Linked DNA regions of Homo sapiens: all the other regions are linked to region 1. The links are contacts of gene promoters, found by promoter capture Hi-C in blood cells and fetal thymus (Javierre and others, 2016). All regions are on one chromosome and are shown on one strand. Each heading gives the region's core, a stretch centred on a gene start or on the middle of the fragment in contact. The rest is flanking DNA. Distances are from core to core; before and after follow the strand shown. Region 1 holds the start of FCHSD2 (FCH and double SH3 domains 2). Region 2 overlaps FCHSD2 (FCH and double SH3 domains 2). Region 3 overlaps FCHSD2 (FCH and double SH3 domains 2). Region 4 overlaps FCHSD2 (FCH and double SH3 domains 2). Region 5 overlaps FCHSD2 (FCH and double SH3 domains 2). Region 6 overlaps FCHSD2 (FCH and double SH3 domains 2). Region 7 overlaps FCHSD2 (FCH and double SH3 domains 2).

Region 1 (3,123 bases), core at 310-2,809:
CAGCTCTAGATTAATCTTATTCAAAACACAGCTCTGTCACTTTTCTGTACAAGAATCTAGTCTAACTCAATGTAAACAACCTGGGTTGAAGTTCCACCTTTTCAATTTCTGGTCATGTGGTCATCTGGGAAGTTACTCGTCTATCCAGGCCTCATTCACCTTCCTCTTAGGCCTGACTGCACTTCTGAGAACAGCTGTCTGGGATCTCAACTTCTGAAAAAACGGTGGAGTAATCCAGCTCAGCCTCCACACAGCCCCGTGACTCAAAAAAAAAAAAAAAACCTCCCTGGGCATGGGGAAGAGGTATTCCTCTTCTGAGGACCCCAAGGGAGGTCGATAAACTCCCCCGTAGATGGTCTGAACAGAGCAGGAAGGTTCATGTGTGGTGGTGGGGTGCACTGCTTAGATAAGCACCCTCACTGGCAGATAAGGAAGCCGAGCTCACCTAGCCTGTTAAGGAGCAGGCAAAGTGGACTGGCACCCAGAGATCCTGACTCCCAGACAAGGGCTTCCTCTATGGCCTCTCCTGCCTCTTCTACTTTTCCTCGTGCTTATTATCCTGCACCTGTTTCTTTTTTAAAATAACCCATAGAACACTTCCTGACGCAGATTCTAGTCCTGCTGTGTAACCTTTAGAAAGGCTTCCCTCTATGGGCACTTGCCTCCCCGTCTGTGAAACGGGGGCCTCGGCCTTAACGTTCTCTTGGCTCCCTCTCAGCGGAGTCAGTGATGTTTGACTTGAATGCCCTGCAGTAGAGTGCCGCCGTTTCCTTTGCAGAGCAACTGCCTTTCCGCCCTACAATCGCAATGGCCTGGCACCTGCGGCCAGCCGCAAAGCGACTTGTCCTTGCTCGCCTCTCTCGCGCACATCTAGCTGGTAGGGAGAGTAGGGTGTTGAGGGGCTGAGAGGAAGAAAACGCCGGAATTCTCGTATCCCACAGGCATGCTGCGCCCCCCTCCCCACTGCAAACGTTTCCCTGCGAGCGTCGTCCCCCGCGCCCCCCGACACACACACACACACACACACACACACACACACACACACACACACACACACACACACACGCAAAGGCAGGCAGGAGGCGGGGGCGGCCTGTGCGCGTGCGTCGGCGCGGAGCCCTCTCCCGCCCACGTGCGCGCCCCCGAGCGGAGACGCGCGCGCCGGGGCGAGCTGGCGGGAAAGCGCGCGGGAAGCCCCCGGCTGGCTCCCAGCGTGGGGGAGGGAGGGCAGGAGGCGTCTGGAACGTGCCACTCTCGGAGAGAAAGGGGGGATTTTCGCGTGGCGCTGGCGTTTCTACACCTCCCACCCACCGACCAATCCGTTAGCTTCCCCCTTCCCCTGCCGCGGTACGAAGCCCCGTGCCGTGGCCTAGCTCCCTCCTGGCAGCCCGGACCGGCCCCTCGAACCCCGCTCTGGACAGAGCGGTTCCCTCAGCATCCGGAGCGGGGCGCTGCGCCGCGCGGCGAGGCCGGAAATTCCCGCGGCCTGAGTGGTGGAGCCCTAGCGGGGAGAGCGGCGCCACCTTCCTCCTCCCGGGCGGGCGGGGGCGTTAGGCCCAGCGAGGGCCGGGCCGCCTGAGTGGGTGGGGTGGGGGCCGCTGCGTCCGCCGGGAGCGGCGGCGCAGGCGGCCGACCGGGAGCGCGGACAACGCGGCTGCGGCTAACCCGCCGCCCGGCCGGCTGAGACCCTCGCGCCCCTGCTCCTGGGGCCCCCGCCCCCTCGCCGTCTCCGCCTCCTTCCTCACACACCCCCGGGCCGCCCGGGCCGCCCGGGCCCCAAGCCTTCCCGGTGCTCCTCCCTCGTCTCCTCACACTCGCTCTCTGGCTGGGGTCCGCCTGCCGCCCGCTGGCCTGCTCCCTCCGGGGCAAGTCTTGCTTCTTAAGCGCTCCTTTCACACACGCGCGCGCTCGCTGGGCCGTCCCCTCCTCTCCGGCCCTCCTCCTCCTCCTGGTCCTTGCTAACGCTGCCGTCGGGGAGGATTGATGTCCCTTCAGCATCATGCAGCCGCCGCCGAGGAAGGTAAGGGCGCAGCTGGGGGGCTTTGGGGTTCGGAGAGATGCGTACGCGGAACGCGGCTGGGGCGACCGCTGCGCCCCTTCCCCCTCCCGCAAGGGGCCGTGACCGCCCTCGTCTTGGGCTTGTCACCGACTTGCCGCCGGCTCCAGGTGGGGGGCGCGCGTGTGAGTTGCCTTTCCGACAGAGGGGCCGCCGGGGCTCGTCCGTCCTCTAACGCAGGAGACCCCCAGACATTTCACAAGAGTTTCGGGTGTGCATTTGTGTGTGTGCGCGCGCATGGCAATGCTGCCCGCTGCAAAGTGCATTCTCGGGGCTGCACCGAGGGGGAGGCGGGGACGCCCCTGCAGCTTTGCAGAGCCTTGTGCGTGTGTGATTGTTTAGTCTGCACCAGCTTTGAGCCCTCCAGCCGCTTGTCGCCAGCCCCGCCCGTTTGCAAATTTGCGGGGGATTTGTTTCTAGCCTAGCCTTAGGGTTTGGCCTGCTTTTCCCACGGGGCGGCCGAAAAGAAGTTGGAATAGTCACCGCCTCCCCACCCCAAGGGAAAACAAATTAAGGATTGACGGGTCCTGCCTCGTCCCCGGCTGAGGGGCGAGGAGGCTGTCGTGCTGTCTTCAGAAAAGCGAGGACCGGGCCCGGGAGGTGCGTGGGGTGTGCACTGCGATCCGGGGTTGGATGACCAGGGTGGGAGTGACGGATGCACCCGGCTTGTCATCAGTCTCCCCGCTGCGCCCTTCCCCAGCTTTCCCAGGGGCCGAGGCTGTGTCCTTGTCTTTTTAATCCTACAGATGGATACTGAATGTCTACTCTGGGCACTGGGTGGATGAGGCCGTTCTGTCCTCCCCTCGTGGGCAAACATTTGCCTAACGCCTAACTCACCCGTGTCTGCTGCCGCTGCTTTCTCTCTTTCCTAATCCGGGTTTCTCCATTTAAGTGAGTCCTTTTCTTTCGAACATGTACCCCCACCCCTCCGGGTGGTCCCACTGCTGAGGCCGAGATTCCAGACTGACCGTTAACTTCGAACCCTGGGGCCCCGGCCTGGCGGGCGAGGCTCTCTGGCCAGCAGGCATTTGCTGTTCTCCGCTGTTTGAAGTGGAGCCTCCACGGGG
Region 2 (3,123 bases), core at 205-2,704, 250 kb after region 1:
ACAATAGGAGCCTGAAAGTTCCCCTATCTAGCTTGTGATTATAGCTCTTAAAGCAAGATCTCTGTGAGAGCTACCAAAATAAAGGCATACTCTTTATAAGGCTGTTCCATCTAACCATGCCTCTAGGTATGTTCTCAAAAGTGTTAGACGCAAGGTTTTTATGCCATTTTTGTTTTACTTTCATGTCATTACTCAGGGACATATTTTTTGCTAAGGTTTGCCTTTGGTACTCTTAATCCAAGACAAAAGAATAGCTCCTTTCAGAGTTCTCATCATTTCTTCACCCCAGCCTTAATGGGTATATTCCTTTTCCCCAGGTGTCCAGAGTTTTCCAGAATTGTCCCAAGGCTCAGTCCACACCAGTTCTTCTCCAGTGTGCTCTCCTGAGAGGCCAGGCACACTCAACAATTATCTAGATGAGTTCCCACTTCTTTCCAAGTGAAGGTTCTGCTATCCTAGCATAGTCAGAATAAGTTAAATTATGTCTCTTAAGAGGCACTGTTCCACTCCTCTTCAAGGTGTGTGGCATATTTGAAATATGTGACTTAAAAGTCTACAGTCTCTTACCAAAAGCCTTGGGCCAAATACATGTCAAAATTCAGAATTTTCCAGATTTTAGAAAAGTGACCCATATACCATACATTGCATAAAACCCTGAGCAATGTATGGGGAAGCACCTGTGACCAAACATAGTATTTTTGCAGTGAAACATATGAATATTTTCATTCATATATGTATATATGAAAGAAAAAACTATAAATAACCTCTTATTAGTTCAAATCACATTTTGGCTCAAGTGAGTTTTGGCTCCAAACTTACCAAAAAATACTTATTCTTTTTCAGAGCATTTTGAATTTCAGAATTGTGGGATTGTGAACCTGTACAAACGTGTAGTTGGAATACAGAGATCCAGATGCTTTTTACTTGAAGAAGTCCTTTTGAGGATAAATAATTAATAACTTTATTGAAATAATTAACCATATATTAATATACTTCATAAAGAATAAGATGGATCCAATATTTAACTCAATATATTAATATATATTTTTTGAGAAGCTCTGTCACCCAGGCTGGAGGGCACAATCATAGCTCCTGGCAGCCTTGATCTCTTGGGCTCAAACAATCCTCCTGCCTCAGCCTCCCATAGATAGGACTACAGGTATGTGCTAATTTTTTTTAAGAGCTGGGGTCTAGCTATGTTGCCCAGGCTGGTCTCAAACTCCTGGCCTCAAGCAGTTTTTCTGCCTTGGCCTACCAGAACACTGGGATTGTAAGTGTGAGCTACTGTGCCCAGCCCCAGTATATTTCTTGTCTCTCAGTAAACTGAAAAATGTAAGTAGTACAAATTCCCTGAATGAGGGTTAACTAGAATGTTATGCCATTGGCCTAACAACCCCAACACTATCTTTTTTTGAAATGGTTTGGAATGCTAGTATTTTACTGTTAGTGATTTTCATTCATCATACATGACCATCTCTTTTTCTCTCCTTGAAATGGTTATATTTTAGTTACAGAGTTAAAAAACTGATTGTTTTCTTCTGCGAAGTCAGCTTTTCTATCGCTGCTCACTCTGCTCAGATATCTGAGCCTTCTATGCCTTTGTATTAACCTTAAAATAAAACAAAATCATATCTTGAGAGAGCATCTAAGGACAAAATAGTTAAGATGACTTAAAGACTAATATATCAAGAATATTGGAATGCTGATTTCCTTAATTTAGTTCTTCAAAGTTATTTAATAACTTTATGAATGTTGAAAAGACTTTATTGTAATATTTTATTCTAAAGGGACTAGAGTTTTTTTTTTTTTTGGAGACAGAGTCTCCCTCTGTAGCCTAGGCTGGAGTGCAGTGCCACGATCTTGGCTCACTGCAACCTCCGGCGCCACCACGCCTAGCTAATTTTTGTATCAAATACATTTTTAAAAGATAAAGGAAAAATATTGGGCTGGGCATAGTGGCTCATGCCTCTAATCCCAGCACTTTGGGAGGTCAAGGCAGGAGGATCATTTGAGGCCAGGAGTTTGAGATGGCCTAGGCAACATAGTGAGATCTCATCTCTACTAAAAATCAAAAAAATTATCTGCGTGTGATGGCATATGCTGTGGTCTCAGCTACTTGGGATGCTGAGGTGGGAGGATTGCTTGAGCTTGGGAGGTCAAGGCTGCAGTGAGCCATGATTGCACCACCGCACTCCAGCCTGGGCAATAGAGTGAGAACCTGTCTTCCAAAAAGAAAAATGTTAAAAGAATGATCTAGGCCAGGCGTGGAGGCTCATGCTTGTAATCCCAGCACTTTGGGAGGCCAAGAACAGGTGGATCACTTGAGGACAGGAGTTCGAGACCAGCCTGGCCAACATAGCAAAACCCCCATCTCTACTAAAAATACAAAAAGTTAACTGGGCATGGTGGTACATGCCCTGTAATCCCAGTTACTCCGGAGGCTGAGGAATGAGAATCTCTTGAACCCGAGAGGCAGAGGTTGCAGTGAGCTAAAATCATGCCACTGCACTCCAGTCTGGGTGACAGAGTGAAACTCTGTCTCAAAAAATTAAAAATAAAAATAAATTTGCCAGCATTTTAAAAAGAAGCAGTCATTACGGTTTCTTTGTTAGAATCGACCACTGCTAATATCACTGTCTTAAAAAAAAAATTACCAGCCACGCACGGTGGCTCACACCTGTAATCCAAGCACTTTGGGAGGCCGAGGCGGGTGGATCACGAGGTCAAGAGATCGAGACCATCCTGGCCAACATGGTGAAACCCCGTCTCTACTAAAAATACAAAAAATTAGTTGGGCATGGTGGCACATGCCTGTAGTCCCAGCTACCTGGGAGGCTGAGGCAGGAGGATCACTTGAACCCAGGAGGTGGAGGTTGCACTGAGCTGAGATCATGCCACTGCACTCCAGCCTGGCCAACAGAGTGAGACTCTGTCTCAAAAAACAAAAAACAAAACAAACAAAAACACAAAAACATAATTATCTATACTAGATCCTGATTTATATTGATCTTTGATAGTGAAGGTGGTATTGGAACATTTCTCTGTGTATTGTTTAATAGCCTGGGCTGTATTCACCTTGTATGAAATTCTCAGTTGTCAAGACCTGTGTCTCAGGAGCTTCCA
Region 3 (3,123 bases), core at 163-2,662, 220 kb after region 1:
GAATAATGTAGTGCCCTTTTGTTCCAAGTACCAGAAGAGGCCTACAAGTTTTATGCCATGTGTTTTTCTGTTATGAAGAGCTTGTTATGCTGCTCTTGCTATGCTGCTGAAAGCAACCTAAAGGGAAGTTTGACACTTTTTAGATTTTTTTTATTTTATATTATTATTACCATGTTCAAAATGTGACATATCCCCAAAGATATTTTGGTGGTAATTCATCCAACATACTGTAAATGTTAAAGTGCTTCCTATATCATTCATCCCCTAAATGGAAACAGATGGCCCTAGGAGCTTTTGTTAAACTTTAATTATTTATGAAGCTTGCTTTTCTTCTTAATATTTTATGAAATGCTTTGTATATGTAACTGAAGCAGATGTTGTCATAGGTATTTTCTCTAGGATAGTAACTCTGAAGGTAGCTCTACTGGCCTTTATAATTTGTTTGTGTGTGCTTGCTTTTTGTCTCCATAAGGAAATGCCTTCCAATTAATAACAAAGTTCATTTAAGAATTCAGAAAAATAAATTTAAAAAAAGAATTCAGAAAATAACAATGTTATTCTACATTTATTTGAAAATTAATTTGTCTAGTGTTACTGTTCTTAATACTTCGAAGTCTAACCAAAAAAAGTAGATAAAAGGAAGGAAAAAACTTCATGATCATTTCAATAGACACAGAAAAAGATTTGACAAAATTCAGTACTTTTTTGTGATAAACACTCAGCAAACTAGAATAGAAGGGAACTTACATAACATGATAGCATCAACCAATGTCATATTCAATAATGAAAGACTGAAATCTTCCTCTGCTAACATCAGGAACAAAACAAGGATACCCATTTTCACCACCGCTATTAACCATTGTACTGGAAGTCCTAGACAGGGCAATTCGGTAAGAAAAAGAAATAAAAGGCAGCCAAATTGAAAAAGAAGAATTAAAATTACCTCTCTTTGCAGATGACATGATTATATTTATAAACTCTCAGAGAGCCCATTAAAAAAACTAATAGAGCTAATAAATTTAGCAACATATAAGATAAAAACACAAAAATCAGTTGCATCTCTATATTCCATCAATGAATGATCCAAAAAGAAGGTTAAGAAAATAATTCCAACTACAATAATACTCAGAGAATAAACTATCTAGGAATAAACTTAACCAAAGGAGTTAAAGGCCTGTACACTGAAAACTATAAAACATTGCTGAAAGAAATAAAAGATATAAATAAATGCATATAATAAATGTTCATGGATTGGGAGATTTCATGTTGCTAATATTGTAATATTCCCCAAAGTGATCTACAGATTCAATGTAGTCCCTATCAAAATTCCAATGGCCTTTTTTGCAGAAATGGAAAAGCCGGTCCTCAATTTTTTTTTTTTTTTAATTTGAGACAAGGTCTCACTCTGTCACCCAGGCTAGAGTGCAATGGCATGAGCTCAGCTCACTGCAACCTCCACCTCCCAGGTTCAAGCGATTCTCCTGCCTCAGCATCCCAAGTAGCTAGAATTACAGGCATATGCCACCACGCCTGGCTAATTTGTTTGTATTTTTAGTCAAGACGGGGTTTCGTCATGTTAGCCAGGCTAGTCTTGAACTCCTGACGTCAAGTGATCCGCCTGCCTTGGCCTCCCAAAGTGCTGGGATTACAGGCGTCAGCCACTGCACTCGGCCCAGTCTTCGAATTAATATGGAACTACAAGGGACCATGAATAGTTTAAACAATATTGAAAAGGAAAAATAAAGTTGGAGGACTCACACTTCCCAATTTCATAACTTACTATAAAGTTACAGTAGTAAAGATAGCGTGGTATGGACATAAGTATAGACATATAGACCAATGAAACAGAATTGAGAGTTCAGAAATAAACCTGAACATCTATGGTCAATTGATTTGCAACAAAGGTGCCATGACTATTCAATAGAGAAAGAATATTCTCTTCAGAAAAAGGTTTTGGGACAGCTGGATAGCCACATGCAAAAGAATGAAGTTCAAGCCAGGTGTGATGGCTCACGCCTGTAATCCCAACACTTTGAGAGGCCGAGATGGGTGGATCATGAGATCAGGAGTTCAAGACCAGCCTGGCCAATATGGTGAAACCTCATCTCTACTAAAAATACAAAAATTGGCTGGGCGTGGTGGTGGGTGCCTGTAGTCCCAGCTGCTTGGGAGGCTGAGGCAGGAGAATCGCTTGAACCCGAAAGGTGGAGGTTGCAGTGAGCTGAGATCGTACCACTGCACTCCAGCCTGGGCGACAGAGCAACACTCTGCTTCAAAAAAAAAAAAAAAAAAAAAAAAAAAAAAAAAAGAATGAAGTTCAATGAAGTTGTGAACCCTTACCTCACAAAATTAACTCAAAATTGATCAATGACCTAACTTATAAGAGAAAACAGAGATAGATCTTTATGACCTTGATTTGGCAGTGCATTCTCAGATTTGACGTTGAAAGCACAAGTAACGAAAGAAAACATAGATAATTAGACTGTATCAAATTAAAAGCTTTTGTGCATCAAAGGACATTATTAAGAATGTGAAATCAACCCAAATGATGAGAGAAAATATTTGCACATCACATATCTGATAAAAGTTTCATATTCAGAATATACAAAGAACTCTTACAACTCAACATCAGAGACAACCCAATATAAAAGTGAACAAAGGAGGCTGGGCACAGTGGCTCACGCTTGTAATCCCAATACTTTGGAAGGCCAAGGTGGGGGAATTGCTTGAGCTGAGGAGTTCAAGAGCAGCCTAGGCAACATAGCAAGACCCTATCTCTACAAAAAAATTTTTTAAATTAGCCAGACATGGTGCTGCATACCTGTTGTCCCAACTACTCGGGAGGCCCAAGTGGGAGGATTACTTGAGCCCAGGAATTGGAAGCTGCAGCAGGCTATGATCATGCTACTACTGTACTGTAGCCTGGGTGACAGAGCAAGACCCTGTCTCTTTAAAAAAAAAAAAAAAAAAAAAAAAGTTGTGTACCAAAAGGTCAATGAAATTAAAAGCTAGTTTTTTGAAAAGATTAACAAAATTGATAAACCTTTTTTTCCCTTTAATTTTAATTTCAGGGGTACATGTGCAGGATGTGCAGATTATGTAGGTAAACTTGTGTCATGGAGG
Region 4 (3,123 bases), core at 465-2,964, 210 kb after region 1:
CTTGTTTTGATTTCTTGTAAAAAGCTACTTTCTCTTTGTAACCTGATTAGGCGTAGCTTGGGGTCTTCTGAAAAAGATAAACAAAAGCAAGGAGGCAGTCTGTTTTCTTCCAGTATCAGCAAAGAAAGACTGTAGAATTTCATGATTTAATTTTAAGACAACTCACATTTATCATCATCTTGATATTTATATCCTTGACTTTTACCAAAGTCTATTTTAGAAATGCCCGTTGCTCTCAGAAAAGAAGAGTTTGTTTTTCTAGGCTGCATTAAGGAAACTCAAGAGATTTCAGCAAAACTTTATTGCTGAAGAATCTGTGCCCCTCCTGGATCTAAATAAGGAGGGGACTGTTTAAAGTTCTTACTTTAGGGGAAATTACATCAAATGCTTAGGAAAATGACCCATTTTCCCTCCTAATTCATCATAATCTTCTTCTTCAAACAAGTTCTAGGACATTTACACTTTCCTGTAAGTAAATGTTCAGTGGAGCATTCCAGATTTCTAAGTTTCTGAATTTGTCCTTAGAATATTCCTTTTTTTTTCTTCACTATTTTGAGTATTTAACATTATGAGTTTGGGAGTTTAGGTTCCAAACTCAACTGATTTTAAGGATCAAGTAGATAAAATGAATAAAGAGGGCAGAGGTAATGTGTAAGGGAGTGTGTGGCCTAATAGCTACCTGGAAAGGACGTGGCTGCTTAAAGGCATTCAAATTCAATTGTTTAAAAATATTGTGGAGTCATTAAAACATATTGCTGGTCAAAGGTCCCATGGTTTCTCAGTTTCTCAATTACTACAGAATTATTCCCTTAGAAATTTGTGTCCAATAGTCAAAAAGTTTGGCTATTTTTTTAAGTATATTTGGATAAATTACCTACCAAGTTTTTGCATATTGGAGACCACCAAGGAGTTCATACTGCCAGATTAACTCACATTTATATAAACCTTGAAAGAATGCTTATCCTGCCATTTCTGAGCATTTATAAGTGAATTCTATCATTGATTAAGAAATTTATGGCCAAGCACAGCAGCTCATGCCTGTGATCCCAGCACTTTGGGAGGCCGAGGCAAGTGGATTACCTGAGGTCAGGAGTTTGAGATCAGCCTGGCCAACATAGTGAAACCTTGTCTCTACTTTAATAAATACAAAAATTACCCGGGTATGGTGGTATGCACCTGTAATCCCAGCTACTCGGGAGGCTGAGCCAGAAGAATCTCTTGAACCCAGGAGGTGGAGGTTGCAGTGAGCCGAGATAGTGCCGCTGCACACCAGCCTGGGCAACAGAGTAAGACTCCGTCTCAAAAAAAAAAAAAAAAAGGCATGGCTCTTCATAGAGGTCTCTTTGAATTGAAGTTTGTGCATGTCTGTTCACTTAAACAAGTGTAAAGAACATTCTTGTGTTTTGCTCATTTAAATGTAAAATGCTAGACAAGATACAGATGCATCTTCATCATACGTGCCCTTCTCAAACTGTTATGATACTTTTATGATTTGTTGTAAGCTTTAAATAGCTCTTTTTTTTTTTTTTTTTTTTTTTTCTGAGACAGTGTCTTACTCTGTTGCCCAGGCTGGAGTGTAGTGGCGCGATCATGGCTCACTGCAGCCTCAACCTCCCAGGCTCAGGCAGCCCTCCTACCTCAGCCTCCTGAATAGCTGGGACTACAGCCACATACCACCACACCTGGCTAATTTTTGTATTCTTTGTAGAGATGGAGTCTTGCTGTGTTGCCCAAGTTAGTCTTGAACTCCTGGGCTCAAGTGATACGCCCACCTAAGCCTCCAAAAGTGTTGAAATTGCAGGCATGAGCCACTGTACCCAGCACTAAATAGTTTTTACTTTACTTTAAATTTGTAAGAAATATATGCAGCTTTTGGATTGTATTTGCAATTCAGCTTTGACATAAAAATTGTCTACTTTAAGCTTTGAGATCTGTTTAATTGAAGAGAACCAGGAATAGTAAGGAAAGCAATTGAATTATTATTACTTGCAATTTATTGTCCATGTGAATCAACTTTTTTTCCTTACAATGCAACCAAAAGACACAATTTGGATATGGCTAATATAAGTTGGGTATCATTTATTACTCTTTAGTAAGAAGTCTTTTGATTGCAAATAACAATGACCCAACTCAAAGTAGCTTAGGCAAAACAGAGGAATTTGTTGGCTAAGGTAACCAAATCACAGAAAGGATGAGATGGTGCTTGCTCAAGAACTACCCAATTCAAGGACACTGTCCCTGTCCTCTGCCCACCATTCCCATCTTCACTTTGCCAAATTTCTCATCACTGCTTTTCTCTGTGAGTTGGTTTAATTCTTTCCTACTACAGATAGGCACTATCTGCTTGGTAGGAAGAATAACTTTGGTGGGAAGGATAGGCCATTTTTGGATTAATCTTTCAGCCTCTATCCCAGGGATGACCTAATTTAAGTCAAGGGACCACCTCCACCCAGTAATTAGGGGCAGAGGACAGTGGTTTGAGGTTCTGTCTTGCATATCTGCCTACCCTGCAAGTTTACCCCTGAGATCAGGACAGCAGGATCTGTTGCTAGAAGGAAGAAGAAGGCATGCAAGGTTATATATATTTTATGTCTTGGAATTCCACATAAAAGGATGCCACTACTGAAAATATTTGAAAATTACTGAATTAGAGTTTTATGAAATCAATTACTCCTTTAACTTGTATACGATTTTATAAATGTTATGTAACATCATTAGATTTCTCAGTCATGGGGCTCAAGTATAGGTTTATTCATTTTTTGTAATCATGCGAATTCTGATTGGTGTTATTATTTGTTGAACAGATATTTATTGAGCACTACCAGTATGCCAAACCCTATGCTCAACACAGAAGATGGAATGGTAAACAGACAGACCTGATGCCTCCCTTTATGGAACTTAAACAAAAAGAGGGACATACAAACAAATATCACCAGTATGAGGTTGTATGCTATGATCAGGAGTTATGAAGCAAAAAGACAATAGAGATATCCAAGTAGATGATTAAGTGAAGAGACTAAGGCTGATAAGAGTGAGCCAAACCATGGGAGAGAAAGCAGAGAGTAGTCAAGGCAGAAGAAAAGCCTGTGTGAAAGCTCAGAGGCAAAAAAGGAGTATTGGAGA
Region 5 (3,123 bases), core at 274-2,773, 190 kb after region 1:
ACCAAATTTTCTTACCAAAATTAACTATAGGCCAGGCATGGTGGCTCATATCTGTAACCCCAGCACTTTGAGAGGCCGAGGCCGGTAGATCACTTGAGGTCAGGAGTTTGAGACCAGCCTGGCCAACATGGTGAAACCTTGTCTCTACTAAAAATATAAAAATTAGCTGGGCGTGGTGACACATGCCTGTAATCCCAGCTACTCAGGAGGCTGAGGCAGGAGAATCACTTGAACCCGGGAGGCGGAAGTTGCAGTGAGCCGAAATAGTGCCACTGCACTCCACACTAGGTCACAGAGTGAGACCCTGTCTCAAAAAAAAAAAAAGATAGTCAAACTTGGTGAACACAAGCAAACAAAAAAGTGTATGGAATTGTTTTTGCTCTAAAAATACTAGAGACTAATACTAGATTAGTGTTTTCCTTCATAGGCCATATATATCTTTCTGGTATTAAGATAGAGAAGAGAGAGTTGCTTCATCTGAGTGACCAAGCAAGACCAATATAAGTTAAAGTACACAGGGAGTTTCCAAGCATTAAACTCATGGGTGCTCTTCCTGTCTAATCTTGTCTTCATTTGGTAAGACATATGCAGACCTACCATGAAGCTTCAGGGAATTTTTGATTCTTGCCAAAAATAAAAATGCCCTGAAGTGTGCCTGTTGAAAATGCCAACAATATGTAGATTCTGAAAGTTATCTTGTAAGTGAAAGAAAGAGTATAGCTGTTACAGTATTCTTGTCAAATAGGATTTTCCCTAAGTTTTATGGGAGTAAGGACTTTCTCTGCTATACTGAACGCTAGCCTCATTTCCTCAGCAAGCATGATTGATCTCAGTTAGATATTAAGAATTTATAAAGAGATTGTGAAAGGGTAAACCTCAAATCAATGGGAAAATAACAGATTTTAAAAGTCATGACATTGAGACTCTTAGGAAGAAAAATTTTGTTTCTTCCATCAAACCAGGCCAAAGTAAGTTATAGGTTTGTTAAAGATAAATGTAATAGAGAAAAACATGGGAGAATATTTATCTGATCTTAGTGTAGGGGTGAGATTTTTAAGGATTCTAGCAAAGGCAAGCACTATATGGGAAAATGGTGATAAATTTTACAATCCCACAGTTCAGAAATGTGTAATAATAACACCAGAGCAAACATTTATTGAGCTAAATGCCAAGCCTTGTAGTAAGTGCTTTACGTATAAGTCAGTGCCAAGGTTGAGAAACTCTGCCCTAGAGCTGCGTAATCTGTCGCTCTCGTTTGCTGTGTTATCATATGCCAGATGTTTTGTCATAGTGTAACAAGGTTTACCAGCTTCCCAATCTGCAGCATCTGTTTCATCACTGCTTACAACTCTGCCACTTAACAGATGCCACCTATATTAGTTTTTTTGTTACAGCAATATCCTACACCAGATACTAATCCTGTATTAATTAGGATAAAGGCTAAACAATTAGAATAGGAAGACCCAAAATGCAGTGGTTCACAAAAGATAGGTGTTAATTATTTCTAATGCAATGGTTTGGAGTAGATAGGTAGCATTTGCCTCATGAAGTTATTCAGAGACTCAGATAGCAGGGTAGTCCATCACTTTCTCTCATGGCCTGGCTAAACCTGTGTCATTGATTTATTTGAGTTCTAGCCAGTGGATAGGGGAAAGAGAGCATGGAGAAGACACACCTATTCTCTTAAGATCTAGTCCTTAAAGGAGCAAATGTTACTTCTGTTCACACTGAATTAGAGAGAATTAGTCACGTGGTCAATCTCACAGCAGGTATGGAGGCTAGGAAGTGTAGTCCCACAGCATGTGCCCAGGAAGAAAGGGATAACATTTGGCGGACAACAACAAATAGTTTCCACCGCAACTACTACCTGTGCTGCCTCTAAATATCTGAGAAGCCAAATGATAATGTGGGAGTTAAGTATTCTTATAAATGAAAAATTAAAATATCCTAAAAGAAATAAGGAAAAACTACAAATTCAGTTTTAAAAAGGGAAATACAAAAGACTACTAATCATACATCAGTAGCTGATTGTCAACAAAGGTACTAAAACAATTCAGTGGAGGAAAGAATAGTCTTTCAACAAATTGTACTGGCACAACTGAATATCCACATGCAAGAAGAATGAAGTTGGACCTCTACCTCACAGCATATATAAAAATTAATTCAAAATGAATCAAAGACTTAAGAGCTAAAACTATATAAAACTCTTTGAGGGAAAAAAAAAATGCAAGTCTATGTTAACTTAGAATAGGCAACAGTTTCTCAGATATCACCAAAAACACAAGCAACCAAAGAAAGAATAGACAAATTGCAGAAATAAAAACTTTTGTGTATCAAAGGAATCTATGGAGAAAGTGAAGACAACCCACAGAATGGGAGAAAATATTTGCAAATTACATATCTGAAAAGGATTTAATATTTAGAATATATAAAGAAGCTTTACAATTCAATAAAAACAAATAACCCAGTTTTTTTAAAAGGGCAAGGATTTTAATAGACTTTTTTCTCAAAGATGAGTAATACCTTTATTCATTAGGAATATGCAAATCAAAATCACAATGAAATACCACTTCACATCCGCTAGGATGACTAAAATTTTTAAAAACAGAAAATAACAAGTGTTGGTGAGGAGATGGAGAAATTGGGTGAGAATGTAAAATGGAACAGCCATTGTGGAAAAACAGTGATGTGAACATTAGCATTTGGTGGTTTCTCAAACTATCCAACAGAATTGTCATATGACCCCAAAACTCCACTCTTAGATTTATACCCAAGAGAACTGAAAACAAGTGTTCAAGCAAAAAGTTGTGTACACAAATGTTTGTAGCAGCATTATTCATAACAATCCAAAGGTGGAAACAACCCAAATGTCCATCAACTAGTGAATGGATAAACAAGATGTGGTAAACCCATACAGTGGAATATTATCAACCATAAAATTGAATGTAGTAATGATTTATGCTACAACATGGGTAGACCTTGAAAACATTGTGTTAAGTGAAAGAAGCCAGACACAAAAGCGTATATATTGTATGATTCCATTTCATTTGTCCAGAATAGGCAAATCCAGAAATGTAGAAAGTAGATTAGTGGTTGCCAGGCACAGGGGGAGAGGGCACTGAC
Region 6 (3,123 bases), core at 323-2,822, 150 kb after region 1:
TATGGTTTTTGTCGTTGGTTCTGTTTATATGCTGGATTATGTTTATTGATTTGCGTATGTTGAACCAGCCTTGCATCCCAGGGATGAAGCCCACTTGATCAGCGTATGTTGAACCAGCCTTGCATCCCGGGGATGAAGCCCACTTGATCATGGTGGATAAGCTTTTGGTGTGCTGCTGGATTTGGTTTGCCAGTATTTTATTGAGGATTTTTGCATCGATGTTCATCAGGGATATTGGTCTAAAATTCTCTTTTTTTGTTGTGTCACTGCCAGGCTTTGGTATCAGGATGATGCTGGCCTCATAAAATGAGTTAGGGAGGATTCCCTCTTTTTCTATTGATTGGAATAGTTTCAGAAGGAATGGTACCAGCTCCTCCTTGTACCTCTGGTAGAATTCGGCTGTGAATCCATCTGGTCCTGGACTGTTTTTGGTTGGTAAGCTATTAATTGTTGCCTCAATTTCAGGGCCTGTTATTGGTCTATTCAGAGATTCAACTTCTTCCTGGTTTAGTCTTGGGAGGGTGTATGTGTCGAGGAATTTATCAGTTTCTTCTAGATTTTCTAGTTTATTTGCGTAGAGGTGTTTATAGTATTCTCTGATGGTAGTTTGTATTTCTGTGGGATTGGTGGTGATATCCCCTTTATCATTTTTTATTGCGTCTGTTTGATTCTTCTCTCTTTTCTTCTTTATTAGTCTTGCTAGTAGTCTATCAATTTTGTTGATCTTTTCAAAAAAACCAGCTCCTGGATTCATTGATTTTTGTGAAGGGTTTTTTTGTGTCTCTATTTCGTTCAGTTCTGTTCTGGTCTTAGTTATTTCTTGCCTTCTGCTAGCTTTTGAATGTGTTTGCTCTTGCTTCTCTAGTTCTTTGCCTTGTCATGTTAGGTTGTCAATTTTAGATCTTTCCTGCTTTCTCTTGTGGGCATTTAGTGCTATAAATTTCCCTGTACACACTGCTTTGAATGTGTCCCAGAGATTCTGGTATGTTGTGTCTTTGTTCTCATTGGTTTCAAAGAAAACATCTTTATTTCTGCCTTCATTTCATTATGTACCCAGTAGTCATTCAGGAGCAGGTTGTTCAGTTTGCATGTAGTTGAGTGGTTTTGAGTGAGTTTCTTAATCCTGAGTTCTAGTTTGATTGCACTGTGGTCTGAGAGACAGTTTTGTTGTAATTTCTGTTCTTCTGCATTTGCTGAGGAGTGCTTTACTTCCAACTATGTGGTCAGTTTTGGAATAAGTGCAGTGTGGTGCTGAGAAGAATGTATATTCTGTTGATTTGGGGTGGAGGGTTCCTATCAGATATTTATAGTTAATTTTTAGTTTATCCCAAATTGATGCAGTTTGCCTACCAGGGTTTGTAAGCAATGTTGCCTAATAACACAGCTGACATTGTGTCTTCTCATCAGGTTTCTATTGAAACACAGATCTAGAAAGTTAAGCAAAGGCCCAGTTTCGTGCAGAGGGGAAAAGTTTTGTTTTATTTTGTGTTTTTTTAACCTTTTCCTTCACAGCCTAACACTTATTAAGTGCTTAATAAATATGAGTGGTTATTTTGCTTTTATCTGTCCATGCAGAATCTTCTAGATGTCTCATCCCCTGTAGTCCTTTCTTAACACCTAACAGCTTCTGGGAAAGTCTAGCCTGTATGTCATATGGTTAAGTTTATTCTTGTTTTATCCTCATTCTTCTGATGTCCTTGCCCTCCTCCACACTATTCACCCTTGCACAATAGTCCTTCACCAGTGTCTCCTCCTGCTTTGCTGAGCTTTTGCCAGTCTCCACCAGTGCTATTTCAGGCTTAGAAGTTTTTAGATGTAACTGCTCTAAGCTGGTCTCAGGCTGGTGAAACTTCTAATTGGTTTGTTTCAAAGTGGGGTCAATCTCCTTTGGATACTCAGAAAGGTCCTGAGGCAGTGTTGCTTGGCCCCGGTGTGTTATAAGAGTTAATTGATTAAACATTGTTTTAGTTGTTATGTCCATCCCTTCTCCTCGAATGTATATGTGTATCCACGGAGTTGGGCAGGGGATGGTTTTGAGTAATAATTGTTATGTGGTACCCAGGTTTCGTGCTTCTCTTGTTCACCTTGGACTTACCAAGTCAGACTACTCAGATTTCACTCCCTCTTGTCTAAGGGGTGAATTCTTCAGTACCCTTTGCACTGTCGGTTACCCAAACATAAAGAGAGACTTTGTTAAGATTATGGGGAAATACAGAATTGCCTTATTCTTTTGATTTTATTATCATGATATCTCCAACAGTGAGAACATTTTTCATAGTTGCTCTTCCATGTCTTACCTTAACGTCAGTCATCAGCAGCACTCGGGTTATTTCTCAATGTATGGTTGTTAGGCAAACTGTGACACTGTTTGATGTGTAGTACTTGAGATGGAAATACCAGGATTTTAATTCACAGGATTTTAATCTGCAATTTGAAGGACACTGAACGTACTGACTTTTCCCCTGGATTTCCATCCTGAAGGCATAGTGTATAGTCCTTAGGATGAAGTCATTTTCTGTAAGCCTGAAAACTAAAATCATAATGATTGTACTTTTGTATTTTACAGTGTGTGGACCAGTTGACAAAGATCCAAACTGAATTACAAGAGACAGTGAAAGATTTAGCTAAAGGCAAAAAGAAATACTTTGAGACTGAACAGATGGCTCATGCAGTACGAGAGAAAGCTGACATCGAGGCAAAGTATGTGTTTTAACATTTCTGAGAAAATTATTATGCAAATAAATGTTATTGTTGCTAATAGTTTGTTCTCTATTAGTAGTGAGCATGGACCCATTCTCAGGTAGTGGTGGTTTCATTTGACCTACATGTGTTATATACTTTAGGTCACATTTTTTTAATTGGCTGATTTTTATCTGAATTAATATAGCAAAATGGGAATATTAGATTAGTCAGTTTTTCACATTAAATTGAATTTTGAAAAAGAAGGTAAATGAACATTGTATTTACAGACTTGAAAGCTTATCAAAAGCCTGAAGTCACTGCTATGGTGTCTGAATATCAGGGTTTAAGAGCCTCATTTTTCTCATGCTGGATTCTCAATCAGTTGTAGTTGGAAATTCCTGTGATCCTCAGGATGCCACTGAAGGTCCATGAACACATCAA
Region 7 (3,123 bases), core at 306-2,805, 130 kb after region 1:
ATTGCCCAGCACATTCTACCACCATTGGCACCTGAATACTCCTCTAGGGGGCCTGAGGTTGGTTCTACCCACCCCTGCCACTACAATCACAGCTGACACCTACCTGCACATGGCACCTGCAGGCTTGGAGACTGAGCTGCCCACCCCCTCACAGCCACCACCAACACCAGCATACACTGCTCAAGACCCAGAAGATTATCCCATCACTGCCACTGCTGTTTTATGCCAGCTGCCCAGAGGCCCAAGAATCTGCCCACCCACCCAGCTCACTGCTGCCACTACCAGCATCTGAGTAAGCCACCTGAAGGCCAAGAATTGGCCCACCTGGACTACTAGTGCCAACTCACCACTGCCTCTACTGGGGCTCAAAGACTGGCCTACCTGGTGCCCCAGTCCTCAGCAAAACTTTACCACAGGCCCCACTAATAACTGCACCTGAAACCACTGAATAAATTACAAACACCACTGACACTGTTCATAGCCAAAGAAATCGTACAGATACCGTACCACTGCAAGCACCCAGAATCAAGGCCAAAGGGCCCTACCAAACAACACCATAGATCTATCTTCAGGAAAACATTCCCTACAGAAGCAAATTCAAAAAACTGGAAGAAGTGACTATCACATCAGATGTGCAGTTATCAATGTAGGAAACATGAAAAAGCAAGGAAATATAACTCCAAAGGAATAACATAATTCTCTAGTAACAGATCCCAATAAAAAACAAATTTACAAAATCCTGGAAAAAGAATTCAAAATGTTGATATTAAAGAAGCTCAATGAGATACAAGAAAATTCTGAAAAACAGTACAGAGAAATCAGAAAAACAATTCAGGATATGAATGAGAAATTTACCAAAGAGAGATATAAAAAAGAACCAAACAGAAATTCTGTAATGGAAGAATTCATTGAATGAAATACAAAATACATTTGAAAGCTTCAACAATAGACTAGATCAAGCAAAAGAGAAGATCTCAAAACTTGAAGACAGGTCCTATGAAATAACCCAAGCAGTCAAAAAGAAGAAAAATAAGAAAGAATTAACAAAGCCTTTGTGATATATGGGACAACATAAAGTGACCAAATACACATATTATTGGTTTCCCAGATGGCAAAGAGGGAAGGGAAGGTTAGAAAAATCTATTTGATGAAATAATAGACAAAAACTTCCCAAGTCTAACGAGATTTAGACATCCAGATACTGGAGGCTCTGAGACCCCCCCAGGCAGATGAAATGCAAAAAGGCATTCTCCATGGTACATTATAGTCAAACTATCTAACATCAAAGACAAAGAGAGAATTCAAAAAACAGCAAGAAAAAAAGCATGCAGTAACCTGTCAAGGAACTGCTATGAGACTACTAGCAGATTTCTCAGCAGAAACCTTTACAGGCCAAGAGAGAATGGTATGATATATTCAAAGTACTGAAAGAAAAAAAAAACTACCAACCAAGGGTACTGTATTCAGCAAAATTATCCTTCATAAATGAAGGAGAAGTAAATTCTTTCCCAGACAAGCAAAAGGTTAGGGAATTCATCACTACTAGACTGGCCCTAAAATATTAATATTGGAAGTTGTTCCCCATAAACTGTATAAATATATTTAATTTTTTCTAGTATGACTTTGTTTTTTGAGACACTTCTCACTCCATCACCCAGGCTGGAGTGTGGTGGCATGATCTTGGCTCACTGCAACCTCCACCTCCCAGGTTCAAGTGATTCTCATGCCTCAGCCTCCCGAGCAACTGGGATTACAGGTGTACGCCACCACACCTGGCTAATTTTTGTATTTTTAGTAGAGATGGAGTTTCACCATGTTGGCCAGGCTGGTCTCAAACTCTTTGATCTCAAGTGATCAGCCCACCTCAGCCTCCCAAACTGCTGGGATTACAGGCGTGAGCCACCACACCCAGCCTGTAGTATGATTTTAAATTGTCCCTTTGTTTTTATTTTTTACCAACAGTGCATGTAATCAGTCTTTTAAATTGTTTGCCTATCTGATGATACATGCAGCATTTAATGTCATTAAAACCTCAATTTGCATTAGACTTTTGTAACACTACTTTCTCTTGGACCTTTTTTTTTTTTAAATTTGAGAACAGGTTTTCATTCCTTTCTATGTAAATGCTTCTCAAAAATCCCTCAGCTCTCTAATGACTTTTAAGTAAGCTTATTTATATTCTTGTCTTTAAATCTTGACTATGAACTGGTAATAATAATATATTTTTATTAACTTTTCAACTTGGGAAACAAAAAGCTGCCTCTAATTTTACCTTCTTTGTAGATCTCTTCATATCTGAAATGTTAAGTAGCTGCTTGTTTGCATGTGATTTCTTTCACAATTCCATCTGCTATAATGACACAAACTATATCTTTATATCTTTGTAAAACAGGCCTACTGTCACTCCCCTGCTTGAAAATCTTCTATTGTTTTTCCTTGCCGATGGGATAAATTTAAATTTCTTTTCATGATATTCAAAACCATGAAGAAACCTGGCACCAAATTATCTCTCTACTTACCTCTGGCCATTTCTGCTTTCATCCTTGGTTTTCCAACCTTTGGGCACCTCAGTTGCAGTTGTGTTTCAGTTCTTATCAACACCTCCACTGGACTGAAAGCAGTCTTTTTCCTTGTCTTTATTTCTGTTACCCAGGCTTAGGATATTCTCCCTTTCTACTACCAATAACAACCATGTATGAACATTTATTAAAACACCATTCTTCTTGTTACTAGTTATTATATAAATTATTCTTAGGTTATGAACTTAATCACATTTTCTTTTCTTTGTTTTGAGACAGTCTCGGTCTGTCGCCCAGGCTGGAGTGCAGTGGTACAGTCTTGGCCCACTGCAATGTCTGCCTCCTGGGTTCAAGCAATTCTTGTGCCTCAGCCTCCTGAGTAGCTGGGATTACAGGTGTGCATCACCATGCCCTGCTAATTTTTGTATTTTTAGTAGAGATGGGGTTTTACTATGTTGGCCAGGCTGGTCGCAAACTCCTGGCCTCAAGTGATCTGCCTGCCTCAGCCTCTCAAAGTGCTACAGGCGTGAGGCACTGCAGCCAGCCCTTAATCACATTGTCCTGAGTTGTCTTGAGATGTGATGCCAGTAGAAAGGTGTATTTC

Evidence for each region. Contacts are between HindIII fragments. The CHiCAGO score rates a contact against its expected background, and 5 or more counts as called.
Region 2: a contact is called between a fragment that was not itself captured here and the fragment with the promoter of FCHSD2 in region 1, in 11 of 17 cell types (naive B cells, M2 macrophages, total B cells and 8 more). The highest score is 12.2, in naive B cells.
Region 3: a contact is called between a fragment that was not itself captured here and the fragment with the promoter of FCHSD2 in region 1, in 16 of 17 cell types (total B cells, naive B cells, M0 macrophages and 13 more). The highest score is 16.5, in total B cells.
Region 4: a fragment that was not itself captured here is called in contact with the fragment with the promoter of FCHSD2 in region 1 in 8 of 17 cell types (M2 macrophages, M0 macrophages, naive B cells and 5 more); the score reaches 8.3 in M2 macrophages.
Region 5: a fragment that was not itself captured here is called in contact with the fragment with the promoter of FCHSD2 in region 1 in 14 of 17 cell types (naive B cells, total B cells, M1 macrophages and 11 more); the score reaches 20.3 in naive B cells.
Region 6: a contact is called between a fragment that was not itself captured here and the fragment with the promoter of FCHSD2 in region 1, in 1 of 17 cell types (naive B cells). The highest score is 5.5, in naive B cells.
Region 7: a contact is called between a fragment that was not itself captured here and the fragment with the promoter of FCHSD2 in region 1, in 7 of 17 cell types (naive B cells, total B cells, M2 macrophages and 4 more). The highest score is 13.2, in naive B cells.

What each region holds. Positions count from the first base shown.
Region 1 is chr11:73,140,754-73,143,876 of GRCh38, reverse strand. FCHSD2 (FCH and double SH3 domains 2) reads left to right here and starts at 1,559. Exons shown (of 20, transcript NM_014824.3): 1 at 1,559-2,020. The coding sequence starts at 2,000. RefSeq lists enhancers at 411-550, 631-740, 2,611-2,840, 2,340-2,961, 3,061-3,110 and 1 more and silencers at 971-1,350, 1,511-1,890, 2,291-2,430. The HindIII fragment of the contact is 9,673 bases long and covers 1-3,123 here.
Region 2 is chr11:72,892,436-72,895,558 of GRCh38, reverse strand. All of the region lies in intron 10 of FCHSD2 (FCH and double SH3 domains 2), which reads left to right. Among named protein-coding and RNA genes, the nearest start is that of ATG16L2, 80 kb to the right of the region's middle. The HindIII fragment of the contact is 7,920 bases long and covers 1-3,123 here.
Region 3 is chr11:72,916,154-72,919,276 of GRCh38, reverse strand. All of the region lies in intron 9 of FCHSD2 (FCH and double SH3 domains 2), which reads left to right. Among named protein-coding and RNA genes, the nearest start is that of ATG16L2, 100 kb to the right of the region's middle. The HindIII fragment of the contact is 2,179 bases long and covers 323-2,501 here.
Region 4 is chr11:72,932,527-72,935,649 of GRCh38, reverse strand. The region is part of intron 8 of FCHSD2 (FCH and double SH3 domains 2); the gene reads left to right. Among named protein-coding and RNA genes, the nearest start is that of ATG16L2, 120 kb to the right of the region's middle. The HindIII fragment of the contact is 420 bases long and covers 1,505-1,924 here.
Region 5 is chr11:72,949,531-72,952,653 of GRCh38, reverse strand. All of the region lies in intron 8 of FCHSD2 (FCH and double SH3 domains 2), which reads left to right. Among named protein-coding and RNA genes, the nearest start is that of ATG16L2, 140 kb to the right of the region's middle. The HindIII fragment of the contact is 1,833 bases long and covers 607-2,439 here.
Region 6 is chr11:72,988,541-72,991,663 of GRCh38, reverse strand. FCHSD2 (FCH and double SH3 domains 2) reads left to right here. Exons shown (of 20, transcript NM_014824.3): 6 at 2,567-2,700. Among named protein-coding and RNA genes, the nearest start is that of FCHSD2, 150 kb to the left of the region's middle. The HindIII fragment of the contact is 2,817 bases long and covers 164-2,980 here.
Region 7 is chr11:73,008,005-73,011,127 of GRCh38, reverse strand. All of the region lies in intron 4 of FCHSD2 (FCH and double SH3 domains 2), which reads left to right. Among named protein-coding and RNA genes, the nearest start is that of FCHSD2, 130 kb to the left of the region's middle. The HindIII fragment of the contact is 1,231 bases long and covers 940-2,170 here.